2 separate regions of the Homo sapiens genome follow, and region 2 is linked to region 1. The links are contacts of gene promoters, found by promoter capture Hi-C in blood cells and fetal thymus (Javierre and others, 2016). All regions are on one chromosome and are shown on one strand. Each heading gives the region's core, a stretch centred on a gene start or on the middle of the fragment in contact. The rest is flanking DNA. Distances are from core to core; before and after follow the strand shown.

The links. Contacts are between HindIII fragments. The CHiCAGO score rates a contact against its expected background, and 5 or more counts as called.
Region 2: a fragment that was not itself captured here is called in contact with the fragment with the promoter of TSNARE1 in region 1 in 1 of 17 cell types (endothelial precursors); the score reaches 6.3 in endothelial precursors.

The regions. Positions count from the first base shown.
Region 1 is chr8:142,400,968-142,406,099 of GRCh38, forward strand. TSNARE1 (t-SNARE domain containing 1) reads right to left here and starts at 2,215. Exons shown (of 14, transcript NM_145003.5): 1 at 2,137-2,215. RefSeq lists silencers at 1,774-1,913, 2,054-2,623, 3,064-3,113 and an enhancer at 2,345-3,120. The HindIII fragment of the contact is 6,879 bases long and covers 1-5,132 here.
Region 2 is chr8:141,501,570-141,506,701 of GRCh38, forward strand. It overlaps MROH5. Among named protein-coding and RNA genes, the nearest start is that of C8orf90, 11 kb to the right of the region's middle. The HindIII fragment of the contact is 5,426 bases long and covers 1-5,132 here.

The DNA.
Region 1 (5,132 bases), core at 965-3,464:
GTCACCACCTGCAGACACTCACCACCCCTTTTCAGGACCGTGGAAGGATGCACCCACGCCGTGTCGCGAATGGCTTGGTACAGCCATGGTCGAGGCATGTTTGTCTTTCCTCCCCACCTGGAAGGTGACTCCCCAACTCCGCCCACCTGGAAGGTGACTCCCTGATTCCATCTCAAGCTCCAGCATCGTGACCTAGCTGTACTTCTCACCACATTCTCCTCAAAGTCTTACGTGTCCAGTGTATTTATTCATCAAAACCTGCTAGGTGCTTATCCTACTCTCGGTGCTGGGTGGGGTGCTCAGGACACAAGGGTGACACAGCAGAGGTCTATGCCACAGAGGCTCCCAGGCACACAGGAGAGACAAACACGGGAGTGCCAGGGCATTCCAAGCAGAAGGCTCTGCATCGACAGGCACACCAGTGAGAAAAGCCACAGACTATGCAGGAAAAATGACTGCACTGTCAGGGACATAAAGCAGGGACTGAAGATGTGGCAGGAGCTGCTGGCAGGAGCCAAACCCAGGACCTCGCTCTGCAGGCCATGAGGAGCTGTGGAAGAGACTTAGGGACACCTGGCTGCCCATGAGCCCCTAGACTGAGTGCCTAGGTCTAGGCTCTTGACCCAGCATCTACAGAAGGCCAGACTCAGGGGAAGTGTCCAGGGAAGGTTCCTGGATAGAGTCAGAGCAGCCAGAGGCTGCCAGATGTTCATGGGGCCAGGCCAGCAGAGGAGGAGAGAAACAGAGGTGACCCAGCCAAAACTCAACCTCCTCCAGGAAGTCGTCTTGGATTTGCCAGCCTCCCACAGCCACCTGCATTCACGGCCTGTGCTGCTGTGTCCAAACATTTGTTCTACCAGATTTCTGCTGCGGTCCTGTGATGTATGGGGTCGAACGGTATGAAAGCAGCGGTTCAGTCGGGGGAAGCACTCCAGTACTAACAAACTTCAGCTTTCTTTCAACTCAATACTGTGTCCACACTGGGAGTATCCTAAGCAACAATCCCCACCCCTGTCTCACAGGCACTAAAGATAAAACAGAAAACAAGCAGATGAGTGACAATGACAAACAAGAAATACTGTAGGGAGAGCGGTCAGAAAGGTGAGCTCAGACATACCGGAAGCGGAGCTGCCCCCAAGCCAGGAGCGAGCCAGGAACTAAAAGAAGAGGCAAGTGTGCAGCAGAGGAAAGAAAGGGCGCCAGGTGTGGCTGGAAAGGCACCTGGCAGGATGAGGGGCGGAGAAGCACCGGCGGAGCAGCACGCGCGAGGCCCATTTTGAGCCGCACCACACCGCTCACAGAACTTCCTGTGATAAGCAGTGTTCCCTACCCGCGCTGCCCCACACAGCCGCCACCAGACACGTGTGGCTACTGAGTGTCGGACATGTGACCACTGGCACGGAGGACCTGAATCCTTCACGTTAAGGACAATGTAAACAGCCACACATGCCTAGGGGCTACCACACTGGACATGGCAGAGCTTCCAGAGCAGGAGGAGTGCGCCATGAGGCAACAAACACGAGGTCCCTGGAGAGTTTCTGCGGGGGCAGCACAGATCAACATCACCTGAAAGTCCCTGGTGGGGATGTCGCAGGCCCCAGTACCCAGGAAGCACCTTCTTACAACTTGGAGAAGGGACAGAAAGGCATGGAGAGGCAAGCACACAGGAACGGGGTCCCCAGCTCAGGCTCGAAGGCGGGCTCCGCTCGTTGAGCTGCAGGGCACCAACCCTTGCACCCAGCAAGTAGGCGCTGGGGCGCTCCCCGGGACGGCACTGACCTCCAGGCGCAGGCACCGGCTGCCCGGCCCAGAGCCCACCGACCTGGGGTCTGAACAGCGCGCGAGGACCCGCCGAGGGGCTCATGTGCCCGCGGGCCGGTCCCCGAAATGCGGCGCTCTCGCGGGGCTGCGGCTCAGGGTCCCTGGCGCCCCTGGGGTCCACCCCCGGCACGGTCCCGCCCCCTCCCCTCCCCACCGGCGCGGCCCCGCCCCCCGCCCGGCCTCCCGCAAGCCCCATACCACGCCACGCCGCGGCCCCCGCCGGGCTCCGGGCCCCGCGCTGGTCCCCGGCCGCCTCGCCCTCGCCGCCCCACGCCCGGCCCCGGCCAGGCCCCAGCCCCACCGCCGCCGCCTCACCTGGGCCTCGGTGGCTCGCGGACCGCTCCGGGCGCTCACGGCGGGCGAGGCGGGCGGGGCGGGCACCCAAACATCACGTGACGGCCCCTCCCGCCGCCGGCGTGCGCGCCCCCTCCCGCACCAGCCAATGGCCGCCGGTCCCGGACGCGCGCGGGGACTACCCGCCCCAGAGGCCCCGGCGCGGAGCCGGAAGCGGCGCGGACGGCGGTCGGCTGGGCCAAGAGGCCTCTGCGGGTGCGCGCGCGAGTCGGCTGTCCTCACTTGCCTGGTGGTGGGCCTCCGTTTCCCCGTTTCCCCGTTTTGCATATGGGGATGACGGCGAAGGTGGAGGTCACGTGGAGGGCGGCGGCCCGGCGCTGAGGCGCTTCGGGAGCGGGCTCCGCCCAGCCCAGGCCGAGCCCGGACCTCACACGGGCCAAAGCTGGAGCTTCTGCGGGGCTGCGCAGGCGGCGGGTCTCGGCCAGGGCAGGGCCGGGCACCTGCGCGTCTCGCGCTGCGGGGACGGGCGTTGGGCCCCAAGTCAGGCTGCACGGGCTCCGCGTGGGGCCGTGCTCGGCCGGGGGCTGGCAGGCCCCGCGGGGACTCCGGACTCCCAGTGTCACCAACGAGGAAACTGAGTCTCAAGACATCTGAGGGACCTTTGCCCGAGGTCGCAGCCCCTCCCTGGAGGAGCTGAAGTGCAGAGTAGGGAGCCCCTTGCGGAGACCCTCCTGGGACCTCCTTCCGCAGGGGCCTGGGGCGCCTCCCTTTCCCTGCTCTGCCTGCGGGCACTGAGCTCCCGAAAGACTCCAGCCCCTCGCTCTCCCGGTGACCTGCTGGAGAAGACACCTGGGAGGAACCTGCGGACAATGGGTGTGTGTCCTTGGGCCGCCAGGGTCACCTTTCAGCCTGTTTCCCCAGAGGTGAACCAAGAGTCACACCCAAGGCAGGAGAGCAAGAGTGATGAGTCCGCTGCACCTTCTCCGGCAAGCGGAGGTTCTCCCGCCGCCCTCACTCTGTGATGCTTGCTGTGCTTGCGAGGCCTACGCCAAAGCCCTGCGGGCAGCCCTGGGCTCCCGCGGACAGCCTTGCTGAGCTCCTGGGAAGGAGGCGTGCCCTCCCCTTCCCCCACCGCCCCGCTGGCTGGGGTTCTCTGCAGCCCAGGACTGTGCATGTGTGCGCACACGGGTTCTGTGAACACGAACACAAAAGTGTGCTCGTGGACACTGCGTGGTACTGTGTGCACACAGCGCACGTCTGTGAGCTGAGGGAGTGTTCCTGGACACCAGGTGCAAGTGCACAAGTGTGTGTATGCTGGCACAAGTGTGTGCCCAGGCGCAAACATGGGAACGGTAGTATATGGCACAAATGTGTGCACACATGGGTGGGAGGGAAGAGGGGCACATGCCCACCAGCATTCCTGGGCTGGTGCTCAGGCCGGCCTGTCCTGGGCCCACCCACGCTCCTTGCCTTGGTGTATTTCAGTCTCCCCTGGGCTCCCAGGAGGCAGTAGTGTGTGCCTGTCTTGCAGCCTCGCCATGATTTGGACAGGGCTTCACTCTTCGGCTAGGACAGCTAGAGTGCAGGGAAGCCGGCTCCTAACCAGGGAGGATGCCCATGACTGCTGACCCCCCAGCTTCCACTTGAAGGGGAAGGTTCGCCAGGACCAATGCCTGTCTGAGAGCTGTCAGTCTGGACTGAGGATGCCGGGTGCCTGGCACGGTGCCCACCTCCCCTTCCGTGGCTGGCGCTGTCTGTCTGGCCGCCACCTCACTCAGCCTCCTCTGACAGCTCCGTGTTCAGGTGTGCAAAGGAGGGGAAAGTGAAGCCCTTTCCTCCCAGGGCAGACCACCTCCAGGAGCCGCTTTCTTGACCATACAAGGCGTATATGGGGCTGTTTCTGTGCCTGGACACTGCAGGGGGAATGGTCTAGCGTGGGTAGGAACCACCAGAGGAGGGGCTCCGTACCTGTTGGCTCCTCCGAAATCTGGGATGAGCCCGCCTGAGTGCCCCACAGCAAGTCAGGGAAGGTAAACCTCTCCGTGGAAGAGCCAGGAGCCCACTCCCTCAGGCTGAGCCGATGGGGAGGGGGAGGAGGATGCTAAGGGGTCCTCAGGAAGGGATGAGGGAAATAGCCAATAGCTGCCTGGGCCTAGGGCCGGGGCTCCCCTCCCTTCCCTCATCTCTGCCCCTCCCTGGAAGAGGTCATCACATGACCTCGGGCAGCTCTGGGCTCCCTCCTTCCTCCAGAGAAGCAGGACTCCCTGGGAAGAACTCTGGTCCCACCCCTTGGCCAACCAGTGAGACCAACAGGGTGAATAAGTGGGATTGGCCCCAGGACGCTGAGTTCTGTTACCTAAGGGGGTGGGGGTTGCCTGGTCCTCAGCTGGCACCCCCCAAATTGGATCTACCATTCCAGGTCCCAGAGGGAATGTGGGCAACAAGGTTAGGGGGTGGTTCCAAGGCCTTCGGAAGGAACGTTGAGGCAGCACCCACTAAAGCCAACCTCAGAAATGCTCCCTCTCTGAATAGTAGCATGGACTTCTCAGGGTTTAAGCTGAATTTCCAGGTCAGTGTCAACCTATGGCTTTGTCGTGAGTTTCCCCACCCTCCCACCCTTCCTCTCTACCCTCTGCTGCCTGGCTTCAATGTCACCTGCTCAGGAGACCATCCCTTGCTCCCCTGCAGCCCCTGCCTGGACAGGAGAAGGCCTGTGCACCTCCTGCTCTGCTCCCAGCACAGCTTCTGCTCCAGCAAAGCCCACGGGCACTCAGTCCTTGATTCCTGCACCCACCAACCCCGCCGAGCCGCCCTCACTATTACCCAGGCCTCCTTTGTCCCTTAGCAACAGAACCCCAGTTTTGTTCAAGGCATCAATGTAGCCAGCCTCACCAGCAGCTGGGCCAGCTGTGACACTGTTTGCCCAGGGGATGACTGCAGGAGGCACAATCGAGCCTCCTGGTCCTTTGGAAGGGGCAGCTGTGGCCACCCACCTCACTGACAGTCTTCCTTTCTCC
Region 2 (5,132 bases), core at 1,344-3,843, 900 kb before region 1:
GTGTTTAAGGAAGAAATAATACCAATACTACAAACTCTTCCAGAAAATTGAAGAGGAGGGAACACTTCCCAACCCTTCCATGAGGCAAAACCTGACACCAAAACCAGATAAAGATATTGGAAATAAAGAAAACTACAGCCTAATATCTTCCATGAACAGACACAAACTTTCTTAATAAAACAATTTAAAGTATACAGAAATGCTTATCCATCATCTCCTAGCGGGGCTTATCCTGGGAATACCAGGCTAATTGAATATTTGAAAAATCAGTCAATGTAATTCACTAGATTGACTAAGGAAAGAAAATACAATGATCTCAATAGATGCAGAGAAACATTTGGTAAAACCCAACATCTATTCAAAAATAAACATAGGAATTAAGAAAAATTCCTCAACCTGATAAAGAGTATCTATAAAAATCCTACAGCTAACATCACACTTTATGGTGGAAGGCTGAATATTTTTCCACATGACTGGGAATGAGGCAAGAAGTCTGCTCTTACCTCTCTCATTCAACATTAGACTATGGACTTAATCAATGTAAGAAGTCAACAAAAAGGAATAAAAGTCATACAGCCTGGGAAAGAAGAAACAAACTATTTTTATTTGTAGAAGGCATTATTATACAAGTGGGAAATTCCAAATCTACAGAAAAGCCTACTAGAACTAAAAAATAAGTTCAGCAAATTTGCAAATTGTAAGGTCAATAAACAAAAATTATTCATATTTATACATACTGGCAATGAACAATTGGGAATTGAAATAAAAAAGGTACCATGTACACTAGCACCAAAAATCATGAGTTATTTAGGCATAAACCTAACCAATAATTGCAAGGTCTGTATACTGTAAACTACAAAATATTGATGAAATAAATCAAGAAAATAGATAGATACACCATGTTCATGGATTGGAAGACTCAATATTGTTCAGATATTAATTTTCTCTAACTTTTTCTAAATATTCAATGCAATTTCAATAAAAACCCCAGCAAGAATTTTTTTTGGTAGTAACCAACAAGCTGTTTCTAAAATTTATATGGAAAGGTAAAGAAACTAGGATAGTCAAAAAGATTTTGTAGAAGAACAAAATTGGAGGACCATTACCAATGTCAAGACTTATTGTCAAGCTATAGTAATCAAGGCAATGTAATATTGATAAAAGCACATAAATATAAATATGTGTAACAGAACATGGATTCCGGAAAAAGGCCCACACATATAAGGTCAATTGATTATTTTTGTTTTGTTTTGTTTAGAGATAGGGTCTCACTCTGTTGCTCAGGCTGGAGTACAGTGGTGTGGTCATAGCTCACTGCAGTCTCAAACTTCTGGGCTAAAGCAATTCTCCTGCCTCAGCCTCTTGAGTAGTTGGGACTATAGATGCATGCCACTGTGCCTGGCTTCAACTGATTTTTGATAAGTGTGCAAGAGCAACTCTATTAAAAAAGCATTAACAGATGTTGCTGCAATAATTGAACAGACACATGCAAAAAATAACCCCTAATCCATACCTCACACCATATGAAAAATTTACTCAAAAAGATCATAGACCCAAAAGTAAGACCTAAACTTCTAAAACTTTCAGAAGAAAATATAGGAGGAAATCTTTATGATCTTGGGTTAGACAAAGATTTCTTAGATGTGACACCAAAAGCACTATATAAAAGAAGAAATGATAAATTTGATTTCATAAAAATTAAAAACTTCTGCTTTTTGAAAGATACGTGAAACATGTTGGAATCAAAATGGAGTCACTGTGTTAAAACTCTGATAAATGGGGCTGGAGGAAGCCTTAAAGGAATGGTTCTCATGCACAAATGCCTGACTGCAAGAACGATCACAAAAGACTCTGCAAAACCCACAACCTTGCACAAAGGCCAATTGCAACCTTACACACACACACACAAATACTTCTGTGAGGTCATCTACCCAGAAAACTGTCTTTCCAACCTAGGACTCACCCCAGCCTTGTTATTGACCCTTGTAGCCAAGAATTATTATTTCAGAACAACTTATATAATCAATCATTTTAATTTTGCCTTTAAAAACTTACCCTTGCCCCAGCCTTGAATAGGCATGTGGTTTACTATGGCACACGTATTACTATTGCAATGCCCATTCCTGAATAAATATCATTTTCTTTTAGAGATCCCCTCTGTCTTTATTTTATTTTTGTTTTCTAGAGAGAGACTTGATCTGTTGCCTAGGCTGGAGTGCAGTGGCACAATCATAGCTCACTCACTGTAGCCTCAAACTCCTGGGCTCAAGAGATCATCCTGCCTCAGCCTCCCAAGTAGCTAGGACTACAGATGCATGCCACCATGTCTGCCTATTTTTTTTTTTTTTATTATAGAGGCAGGTTGTCTCTATATTGCTCAGGCTGGTCTTGAACTCCTGGGCTCAAATGATCCTCCTGCTTCCACCTGCCAAAGTGCTGGGATTACAGGCATGAGCCACTGCACCTGGTCCCCCTCTCTTTTATTTAGATTAAGGGATATGCATTAAAAAATGATAAGCTGCAGACTTGGAGGCAGTATTTGCAAATCACATATCTGATAAAGGACTATCTCCAGAATATAGAAAGAACTCTCAAAACAAAACAAAGCAAAGCGCAAGCGGCCTAAGGAAACACAGGCAGGAGACTGGGACAAGGCATCAGAGGAGGCAGACAGATGGCAAAGAAGCACCTGAAAAGCACTCAACATTTCTCACGAGGGAAACCAACTAACACCACAGTGGGCTATCACTACACATCTACTGAAATAGCTAAAATCAGAGACACTGGAAATACCAAGTGCTGGTGAGGTTGCAGAATAGCTCTGAGCTTCCATACATTGCTGGTGGGAATGCACAGTGGCACAGCCCTCTTGGAAGATAGCCTGGTATTTGCTAATAAAGTCTAATGTACACTTACCAAATGGCTCAGCTACCCGCTCCTAGGCATTCACTCAAGTGAAATGACTACTGACTAAAATATATACACAAACATTTATACTGACTTTATTTATGCTATCTCCACATGGAAATAATCCAAATGTCCCTCACCCTGGGAATGTATAAACAAACCATGTCACACTCACAGTAATGCTACTCAGCAACAAAAGAGGTGAATCACTGATAAACACAAAAACATGGATGCTCCAGGAGGGAAACCAGATTCCAAAAGCTACATTTGGTGTCATTTCATTTTTATGACATTCTGAAAAAGGTGAAACTACAGACAGAGAGCAGGTCAGTGGTTCCCTGGGACTGGGAGTTGGAGAGAGTTCACTACAAAGGGATGGGAGGGAGTGTCTGGGAGATGGAGTTGTCTGGGCATCCTGTACCCACCGCCATATTTTGTTTGTGATGGTGAGTCCATGACTATATACATTTGTCAAAATTTGAAAGCTATACACTAAAAATAGTGAATTTTGTCATCTGTAAATCATACTGTAATCGAAAAGAAAAAAGACACATAAGAACAAAAATGGTCTCTCTGCCCTTATTTCCTTCTGCTCTCCCTTGCTTATTCCACTCCAGTGGTGGGGTGCTCCCACCACCGGGTGCACATCTACTTCTGGACCTTTGTGTGGCCACTCCTTCCGTCTGGGGAATGCCGTTCCTTCAGATGGCTGCCTGGCTCAGTCCCTCACCTGATTTTAGTCTTTGCTCAGTTGTCACCTTCTTGAAGAACTGATTTAAATCCTCACCCCACACTTCCCCCTCCCCACCCTCTCTTTTTTCCGTGTCACTTTTTGCCCTGTAACATCATATCCTTTACTTTCCTGCTTCTGGTCTCACTGGCAGGTCTCCCTACCTGGAATGTAAGGCATGAGGGCAGGGTCTTTATCTCTTTTGTTCCCAGCAGTATCCCCGACACCTAGAACACCTGGTCCACGTAGCAGGTGCTCAGCAAATACTGGCAGAATGAATGGAGAGCTTCATAGCAGGTGATGTATCCAGAGCCACCACCGGCCCTGTCCTGACCTTGGACATGGCATTGTGACAGCCCTCCCACCTCTCCAGGATCCAGTCTGTCCCCTGTAATCATCACACCAGATCCAGCTTCCCAAATGCCTTCTGGTGGACCCTGTGAGGCTCTGCTTCCCTGGCCCCTCTGCCCAGAGCATGTCTCCTTCTCCTCCTTTCTTTCTGTCCCTTTGCCAGGGCTGTAGGAGGATACCCACCAGGCTTCTCCATCCCATAACTGCAGCAGAGGGTTGGAGTTGCCTGAGAAGCTGCATTTCTGCACATCTGAGCTTTGCTGTCTGAAGAGCTCTAGAGCCTCCGTCCTAGATATCACGTGTTCTGACATCTCCTGGCATCTCAGGGCCAGGGCAGCTCTGGGGAGGCCCTCAGACCCTGCTCTCTTGACCTTGAGAGGTCAAGACACAGTTTACCCCTTCTGGAAGCCGCCTCCTTCCTGTGGCCTCTCAGAAAACTAGCCAGTTCCCTGATCCTGGAAAGGGTGACCTTCCAGACAAACCTGGCTGGGGCCCACTCTGGGAGTGGGAGTGAGGATCCCGTTGGAGCTAGAGCCCGGCTTCCCCCAGGCACAGCAGTGGTAACAGCATGGGCCGCAGGCACCAGCGAGGCCTGTACCTTGCCCCTCCAAACCCACATCACAGCCCCTGTGGCTTCCAGAGTTAAATGCATTTTTAAAAATAGAAAAACGATGTGAACACACTATTAGCAAACATCTGCAGAGGAGTACTCTTGGCTTAGCAGCAACAGAAGCTATGGCAGAGAAGGGAGGCCTGACAACATTCAAACGTGGACTGCGAGAGCCGGAAATACCTGAGTTCACAGGCAGGTACCAAGACATTCCTGGAACAGCCACCGTAGGCAGCGTGGATTGCAACAGGGAATCCTGCTCTGAACCCATGGCTTGGCTGTGGGCCCCAGCCCGGGTGGACGAGTGTCTGGACAGCAGAACCTGCTCTGAGTCCCCATAGAGGGGGCGGGCAGGGCTCTGGGCTGGGGGCCAGACAGCTCTGACCTGCGTATCAGACACAGGAAGGTAGAGATGCCCTTTGTGTCTTTCCAGGTTCCTGGGACACTGGGGTTCCCTGGGGACCCTGGAAGGCTGTGGAGGAACCTTCCTTTATTCATGTCCCTTAAATCTCTGCAGAAACTCTGGCTGTGGTA